Linked DNA regions of Homo sapiens: all the other regions are linked to region 1. Evidence: promoter capture Hi-C in 16 types of primary human blood cells and fetal thymus (Javierre and others, 2016). All regions are on one chromosome and are shown on one strand. The core of a region is centred on a gene start or on the middle of the fragment in contact, and the rest is flanking DNA. Distances in the headings are between cores, read along the strand shown. Region 1 holds the start of TRA-TGC3-2 (tRNA-Ala (anticodon TGC) 3-2). Region 2 holds the start of WSB2 (WD repeat and SOCS box containing 2). Region 3 holds the start of TAOK3 (TAO kinase 3).

Region 1 (2,778 bases), core at 73-2,572:
CTCCCTACACACCAAATTATCCTTCAAAACTCCAATCCCTGAGTTTTCAGGGAGACTGATTTGAGTAATAGTAAAACTCCCGTCTCCCACACTGCCAGCTGTGTGTGAATTAAACGTTCTCTATTATGGCAGGGCGAGGTGGCTTGCGCCTGTAATCCCAGCACTTCGGGAGGCTGAGGTGGGCGGATCACAGTTTCCCTGTCCTAATAAATGGGCTCTGTCTAGGCAGCGGGCAAGGAGAAACTGTTGGGCAGTTACAGAAGCATGTAAGTTTTGTGTTAGGCCTGATGACTTCAGAAATTATCTTCAATGATTTTCCCCTAAAACCTTGTTGACATTTAGGGAGAAATAACCTTTCCTGAAGCTCATTAGAAACAAGCTGTCACCAATGCGTCACCACCTAACTGGTGAGTCAGTTCGCAAGTTTCATTTTCTTCATCTCAAAAATGAAAGCTCTAGATCTAGGATTAGACGCTTTTACCATTTAAAACATGAAGTCAAGTCAAATGAAAGAAAGGGGCTGACAGGTGAGGAATTCATTATAATTGCAAAGAACTGTACCACAGAATGCAGCCGAATCCCTTCTTTCATTCTTATTATTATTTAGAGAGCTGGGAACTGGTTAAACTTTAAAAAATATAATTTATTTTTATGTATTTATTTTTGCCTAAAGATCATTCATGCAAGTAAATCAATCTCCCCTCCCCTCCCCTTCCCCTTTCCCTCCCCTTCCCCTTCCTTTCCTTTCCTTTCCTTTCCGAGCCAAGGTCTCCCTTTGTTGCCCAGGCTGCTTTCAAACTCCTGGCCTCAAGCAATTCTCCTGCCTCATGCCTCCCAAAGTGCTGGGATTACAGGCCTGAGCCACCATCTTTTGCTTTCAGTGATAAAACACAGAAACACAGTGGAGGTGAAAGCAACTCCATCTTGGTTGCTAATCCACCAAGATAACTTCCGATTAATGCCTCTTCCAGGAAGGTCTCTAAGATTTCTACTTTACTGTTACCATAAATTCTGCCCTTAGATCAGAACAACCTAGATCATAAATCCTTCCCTTATGCGGATTCACATAACATTCTTGCCTTGCTTGAGGGGTCAACTTCAATTGTCCTACATATATTCCTTCCCTATGGTATGGAAGCCCTGGGCCGGGGGTTATGGCGCAGCAAACCTTATATCCTCTGATGACCACCCTGAGACTATGGCTTCTGTTGGTAAGTCCCTAATAAATGTTTTTTCCTGAGAAACTGGGTTTGTCAACCCCTTTCTTTGGCCTCTCAGCTCCCTTGGCCTTTGGGGTAGGTTTGCATAGGCCTGCTCACCCCGGAACACAGTGTATGAATATAAATGTAAATTGCACTTGCATTACAGCCGTGGAGACGTGTTGCTGAGGAAGCAGAGAGCAAAGCCCCGCTGGGATGTGAGTTTGCTTCTGGGTTCCTCCCATGCAAATGAGGTGGTTCGTGGCAGTGCAGAGGAGGAGTGAGATGGCAAACAGGGGGGCCCAGACCTTCCAGCAACTTACACACTTGCCCTCTGATGGCCAAGAATGCGTCAACAGCCCTCGAGGCCAGTGCAGTACAATCATGGTGGCACGAGATGTGGTGTACACTCCCCAAATGATCATCCTGCTCACTTTTGCTGTGGTTTCAGTCATCAAGTCAGGTTTTGCCTTAACACTTTTCTGCTGATTACTCCCATCAGCCTCTTCTAACTCATGTGCATTTGAAACATTAGAGATTTCAGAATGGGAAGATCACACCTGGTGTGAGAATCTGAGCTCCAAGTAGTGCCTGGAATCACAATGCTTATGATAATCACATCCATGGCACTTTAATGATAAAGAACCACGGACCAAAACGAATACAGAAAGCAACAAAACTACAATGGAGATGCCGGGGATCGAACCCGGGGCCTCATACATGCAAAGCATGCGCTCTACCACTGAGCTACATCCCCCTCCCTTTCCTGTACTTGCTTTTGGAAGTCCTTGCTATACTCTATTCTTAAAGGCGTTTTTCCTGTTTCCACGTGTTTCATTTTTATTTTTGGTTTTTATTATTGTTTGGACGCATAACAATTGTGCACATTTATGAGGTGTGGTGTGATGTTGTGATCTATGTACACAATTTGTAATGTTCAAATCAGGGCAATGACCACATCCATCCCTTCAAACATGTATCATTTCTCTGTGCTGGGAGACATTAAAAATCCACGCTTCCAGCTATTTGAAAACGTACAATAAGTTGTTGTATTCACTCTATAGGGACACTGGAACTTATTCCTCCTATTCAGCTGTACTTTTGTATCCAGTAACCCCCCTTTGGCTATCCCACCTCCCCCCACCTTCACTACCTGCAGTAACCACTATTCTCTCTGTGAGACCAACTATTTCAGCTTCCGCACGTGAGTGAGATCATGCAGTATTTATCTTTCTGTGCCCGGTTTATTTCACTTTATGTAATGTCGCCCAAACTTAGCCATGTTTTTATTTTTGTTTCGTAGAGGAAAAATGACAGGATTTCATTTTGTTTTGTATTTTTTTAAGGTCGAATAGTATTCTATTGCGTATGTACACATTTTCTCTATCCATGTATCTGTTGACGGACACATCTAGGCACTTATGAATAAAGCTGCAATACACACGGGAGTGCGAGAGGCTTTTAGTTTTTGGTTGGTTGGTTTGTTTTGAGACAGAGTTTTGCTCTGTCGCCCAGGCTGGAGTGCAGTGGCATGATCTGGGCTCACTGCAACCTCCGCCTCCTGGGTTCAAGCGATTCT
Region 2 (2,778 bases), core at 132-2,631, 6.9 Mb before region 1:
AAGAAAGCCCTTATCTAGATGGGAAGGAGAGAGAGCTGCCTTTAACTCAATGCCTGACTTCAGCAAACAAAGAAATGTCATTTCCTAAATTAAAAAGTAACACCACCCCAGGGAATACCCAGATTTCAACCTTCCCACCCACAGTAACAAGCCATCAGCAATCAGAACCCTCCAGACCAGGATGAAGCTTGAACTTGGCTGCAAGATTACCATGAAGTTCTGGAACAAATTCTGAGCCCTAGGCCTTGAACCTGCTCTGAAAATTTCTCCTAAGGAAATTACATTTAAACTCGGGTCCTTCAAGACCTGGGACTCCCGGAATCAATTCTAAATCTATCCCAAGTGGGGTTCCGAGGGAAGGTCGTTGGAGGGGAGAGGGCCAAGGCGTGCATGCGTCTTGGGGTTTTTTTCCCCTTGCATAAGAGACACACCTTTCCCACTGAGATTTTATGTTCATCTGGGCTGGCTTGAGGTATATCCAATATCCTCTGACTTCCACGCTGTCTTCTGATGGGGATGGCAGTTAACAAGAATAGAGGCAAGGTCCCCACCCATCAGTGTATCCTAAATTTGCCTGATCATACATGTCACCAGGGATCAGCGTCTCCAGTCCCGCCCCACCTCCACTGACTTAATCTCCAGTGGGAGAGGCTGGGAATAGATTGTTTCAATAGGGAACCCAGACCCCAGACCCCATTTTTACCGGGTCCCAGCCACCCTCCGAGGAAGGTACTAGGATTATCCCATTTTGCAGATCAAAACTGAGACGTGGGTGGCGGTGGTTCAGTGGCTTGTCCACTGTCACGATCACACAGCTTGTGAGGGACAGAGGTGACTCCCATCCAGACATGCAAGTGCGTCCCCTGGCACCTGGGTACCCAGGGGCACCCACCCCCTTGGGGATCTCCGTTTTAGGGCTTGGTGCCCCCCGCCCCGAGTCCCACCCGGGAGCCCCCTCTGTCCCGGTCGGGGGATCTCCTCCCGCAGAAGCCCGATCTTCCCGATCCTGTCGCCGGCGGGAGTCAGGGTGGCGGCCACTGACAACGAAAGTGAAACAAAGCTGGTCGCCGGGCGCGCACCCCCGCCGGCCCCGCGCGGACCTCCCAGGCCGGACGCCCCCGCCGCGTCCAGCCCCCGCCCCACCCCGCCCAGCCCGCCCCGGGGTCGCCTCCCCCCTCCCCGGGGAGAACGGGCCAGGGCCCCGCCGGGCGGGAACGGGCGCGCCCGGCCCCACTCACCTCCGGCCTCCATGGAGGACGCGAGCGGCCCCCGCGGCAGGCGGCGGGCGCCTCAGCCCCCCGGGCCGCGGGCCCTCATGCCGCCCCCGCGCCGCCCGCCCCGGCCAGGCCGCCGCCGCCGCCCGGAGAGGCCATCAGCTGCTTCCCGTCACATGGCGGTGGGCGCGGGCGGAGACGCGCGGGGGCGGGGCGCAGGGGAAACGGAGGGGGGGTGCGGACGGGATAAAAACGGTGGGGGGCAGCTGAGGGAAAAGATGGAAAATCGGGGAGGCGGTACGCTGACGGGATAAAAGCTGAGGGGTTGCTCAGGGGAAACGGGGGCGGGGAAGACGCGCGAACCAGATAAAAATGGGGCAGGGGTGGGGGGAGCTGAGCGGAAACGGGGTGGGGCGCGAACGGGATAAAACCCAGGGGTTGTGCGGGGTCCTGAGGGGAACCAGCGCCGGATAAAAACGGGGAAGGGAGGGAGGTGAACAGAGCTGAGGGAAACCGGGAAAAGGGGAGCGATAGAAACCGGAGTAGGGGAAGCCGGGCTCAGGGGAAAAGGGGGTGTTGGAGAGTGGTAGAGCCGGGCTGAGAGAAAAACCAAGCAGGGGAAGCGGCGATCCGGGGAGAACGGAGAGAGGGAGACCGAGGGCTGTGGGGGTAAGGGGAACCAAAGGGGCTGAAGCGAAATCGAGGGGAGGGGCAGGTGAAAATGGAGCCATGCGAAGGCCGATGAGGGGGGAAACGGGTAAAAATGGGGGCGGGAGAAATAGGTTGGAGGGAATACTGGCCGAGAAGAAACCTGGGGAGAGCTGGGCTTAGGGGAAAATGGGGAGGGGGTGGAAGGAAGGTGTAATAACCGGGTGCTGGGGAGGACGTAAGAATTGGGGGGTGCGGCGAGGGTCAAGGCTAGGGTAAAACAAGGGGGGCTACTCAATGGCTCCGGTAATGGGAGAGGGAAGTGAGGAGAACACGGGGCGGTGGGGAGAGGAGGGCAGGGTGAAAACCGGAGTGGGGGTGGGAACGAGATAAAAAACGGGGCAGGAGCGATTCGGAAGAAGACTGTCCCCTTACCTACCTACGGCGACAGCCTCGCCTGTCCCCGTCCCCCTGAGAAACCTGCTCTCCCTGTCTACCCGCATAGCCTCAAGAAATGGCTCGCTTGGGTCAGACGCCCCCTTTTTAACATTCCAGGGCCAGGGCAGGAGTCATCATGGAGGCTTTTCATGCCTGAAAGACCCCATTTCTTAGTTGTCCGGTCCCCAGTAGTATCAGTGGCTTGGGGATTTCTTACTGAGCTCAGCTCATTGTCCCCAAAATGCCTCCCCTTACCCCCAACTCGAGCGCTTCCCTTTCCTGCTTTGGGCCCAAGCTCTTCCCGCGGTTCTTGGTGTCAGCTTCATTCAAGTCACTCTCCCGCCTCTCATTCCTTTCTCCCCGCCTTTCTTCGCTTCCCTCCAAGTGCCCTCTCCATTTGCCGGTCACTGGTCCCAGAGCTCCGGATCGCAGTGGTTCCATTTTAAATTTCTTTGCTTCCTAACGCAACCTATGTTTT
Region 3 (2,778 bases), core at 184-2,683, 6.5 Mb before region 1:
CCTCCAGCCCATGCGTTTCACTTCAGAGATGTTTCATGACATAATCCGGCTCCGGAGTCCCCCGGAGTCCCGGGGGCTCACACTCCACCCTCAGGGAGGTCGCTGATGCCAGACCCTGGGAGCACCTCCCCGCTCCACTCGTCTGCGCTGCAGCCGGTTCCTATTTGCCCGACGCCGCGACTGCGACCCAGGCTCCCCGCCGCAGCCGTTCTTGGGGGGGCTCCCGCAACTCAGCGGGCGCGACCCCCCGCCCGCTCCCTCGCTGCTCACGCCGGGCCCCCGCTATGTGACTGGGGGCCCGACCCGCACCCATGGGGCACCGCTCCTCCCTCGGGGTCCGCGCCTGCACCCGACGCTCAAAGCCCCTCTCGGAGTCCCACGCTCGCATGCGCTGTCCCGAGCCCTCTGGGGGTCCCCTCCTCTCACCCCGCTGTCCTGGCCCCTCTCGGGGTCACCCTGCTCCCACCCGCTGTCCCGGCCTCTCTCTAGGTGTCCTGCTCTCAGCCCCGCTGTCTCAGCCCAGCCCCCTTCCGGGACCCCTCCTCTTCTCCCACTGTCTTGGCCCTTCCTGGGGTCTTCTCACACTCTGTTCTAAGCCCTCTGGGGATCCCCTGTCTTCACATCCCCTGACCGGTCCCCTCTCTTTACTCTGTCCTGGATTCTCTCTGGGTCCCCTCCCCTCACCTCGGGGTCTCCTCTCCCCGGGTGCTGTCCCAGCCCCTCTCGGGGTCCCCATCTCTCAGACTCTCAGTGCCGGCCCCTCTCGGGGACCCTTCCCCTCTCCCCGCTGTCCCTGACCTTTTCTGGGACCTGGTCCTTCAGGGGACCCCCTCCCCTCATCCCCCTATCCTAGTGCCTCATGAGGCACCCACCCCTCACCCCACTACCCCAGCCCCTCTCCGGGTCCCTTCCTCTCACGCGCACTGTCCCGGCCCCTCTTGGAGACCCCTCCCCTCAGACTTTCAGTCTTGGACCCTCTCGGAGTCCTCTCCACTCAGAGCCACTGCCTCGGTCCCTCTCGGAGTCCCCTCTCCTCACCCGCTGTCCCGGTCCCTCCCGGGGTCTCCTCTCCACAGTCTGCACTGTCGAGCCCGCTCCCGCAACTCCCCTCACTCTGCCTGGGGTCCCGCCGCCTCGGCTCCCACTGTCATGCCCCGCGCCCCGGTGCTCTCACCTCAGACCTGCTGTCACCACCCCCGGGCCCGGCGCCGCCGCCGCCGCTTCCTCTCCCACACTTGTTCCTGAGTCGCTCTCCTGTGGCTTGTTCCCCGGCGGATCCTTGGGTCCGGTCGCTGAGTGCCGGATCCGGCTGTGCGCAGCCTCTGCTCGCGGTCTCGGCGTTGCGTCCCACTCTCCACGCAGGACCCCGCCGCCCGGCGCCACAAGGACCCTCCCGCGGCCGCCGCCGCTGCTGCTGTCCGAGGTGCGGCTCCTGCCAGGGGTGGCCAATCGCACCGGACTGCGCCGAGCACGCCCCGCCCCACCGTCTCAGTCCGCCCGCCCCCTGCCCCGGACCACGCCCCAAGCTCGGCTCCAATAGGCTCTCTACTGACCTTCCCTGATCGCGGGGCACAGGGCCGGGGCCGTATATAGGTATTTGATTGATGGAGCCTGGGAAGCCGAGCGGTCGATGGAACCCGAGGATTGGCGGAGTTGTCGATGGGCGGGACAGGGCAGGGCGGGGTCTCCTCAGACGCGGAAGACCTTGCAACTTTAGTAACCTACGGGCCCGCCTGGGGTGCGGTCAGTCTTGTTTGTGCTGCTCTCCGGTCAAAGTTCATGGCGCTTCTCCCCACGCCTTTACTTTTCTTGGGAGATTCCCAGGGACCACCATGTTAGAGCCTTTGGGGAGGACCCCAGTCTCTCGCTAGACCTTGCACAGCTTTCTTAGTAATTCTGCCATGAACTAATATAGCATTAATTTGCCCAGGATTTGTAAAAATTTCCTGGATTTAAACCATTTCTTTTTAAAATCTCTTGCAAGGGAGTTGCCTCTCCTTGAATTGAGTTCAGCAGCCGTCAGTTTGATACCGTTGGGGGAAAAAAAATCTATATACAGTACTAGGTGCATACTTTGCCCAACTAAGCGTTCAATGCGGGGCACATTTTGATAGGTGCAAGGACAAAGCTTTAGAAATTTTCAGTTTGTAGGTTTTTATGACAGTAGGAAGACTGTGGTAGGGGAACCCTATTATTAGCTTAACAAGGTTTCAGCAAAGCTATTCAATATAACCTTTTTCCAGGGCCACAGGTTTTAATGATTCTATGTGAACGTGTGGCCAAAGGATAACGAGCTTTGACCCAGGTTTAACATGTGATAATCAGAGACTCCTCTTGATCCACGCTAAAGGATAGTGCCTGCCAGGGGTGAAAGTGCATCATGCTACTAAGACCCATTTGTGTTATTTTTGTGAAACTGGATATGCTGATCAAATCAACACCGGAAACAGAAAACTGCTTTCCTTACTCTTAACGCCAAAAGTAAGTTTATGGACTTTAGAATTTAGCATTTTATGAAGAAATTGTCTCAGGAACACATTTTGATCCTAAGTTTTGTCAGATGTATACAGGCCTTAGTTCTCAGAGAACCCTCGATTGTTAACTTTTTAACTCCAGCTGACAAAATGTGTTTGTGTTCTAAACAGTATACATGTTTCTTCTAGTGTTTTAAGAATCATACGCCATTCATCACCTGAGGTCAAGGGTTCCAGACCTGCCTGGCCAACATGGTGAAATCCCGTCTGTACGAAAAATACAAAAATTAGCCGGGCATGGTGG

Evidence for each region. Contacts are between HindIII fragments. The CHiCAGO score rates a contact against its expected background, and 5 or more counts as called.
Region 2: the fragment with the promoter of WSB2 here is called in contact with a fragment that was not itself captured in region 1 in 2 of 17 cell types (M2 macrophages and total CD4 T cells); the score reaches 6.5 in M2 macrophages.
Region 3: the fragment with the promoter of TAOK3 here is called in contact with a fragment that was not itself captured in region 1 in 1 of 17 cell types (total CD4 T cells); the score reaches 10.6 in total CD4 T cells.

The regions. Positions count from the first base shown.
Region 1 is chr12:124,919,871-124,922,648 of GRCh38, forward strand. It overlaps TRA-TGC3-2 (tRNA-Ala (anticodon TGC) 3-2), which reads right to left and starts at 1,956; the gene lies at 1,885-1,956. RefSeq lists enhancers at 1,162-1,351, 1,187-1,865, 1,432-1,751 and a cis regulatory region at 1,407-1,577. The HindIII fragment of the contact is 6,001 bases long and covers 1-2,778 here.
Region 2 is chr12:118,059,798-118,062,575 of GRCh38, forward strand. WSB2 (WD repeat and SOCS box containing 2) reads right to left here and starts at 1,382. Exons shown (of 9, transcript NM_018639.5): 1 at 1,239-1,382. The coding sequence starts at 1,251. LOC124903030 (a long non-coding RNA gene) reads left to right here and starts at 1,663. Exons shown (of 2, transcript XR_007063479.1): 1 at 1,663-1,883. RefSeq lists a silencer at 792-841. The HindIII fragment of the contact is 4,146 bases long and covers 186-2,778 here.
Region 3 is chr12:118,371,474-118,374,251 of GRCh38, forward strand. TAOK3 (TAO kinase 3) reads right to left here and starts at 1,434. Exons shown (of 21, transcript NM_016281.4): 1 at 1,175-1,434. RefSeq lists silencers at 274-363, 464-523, 1,308-1,557 and an enhancer at 1,878-1,927. The HindIII fragment of the contact is 12,374 bases long and covers 1-2,126 here.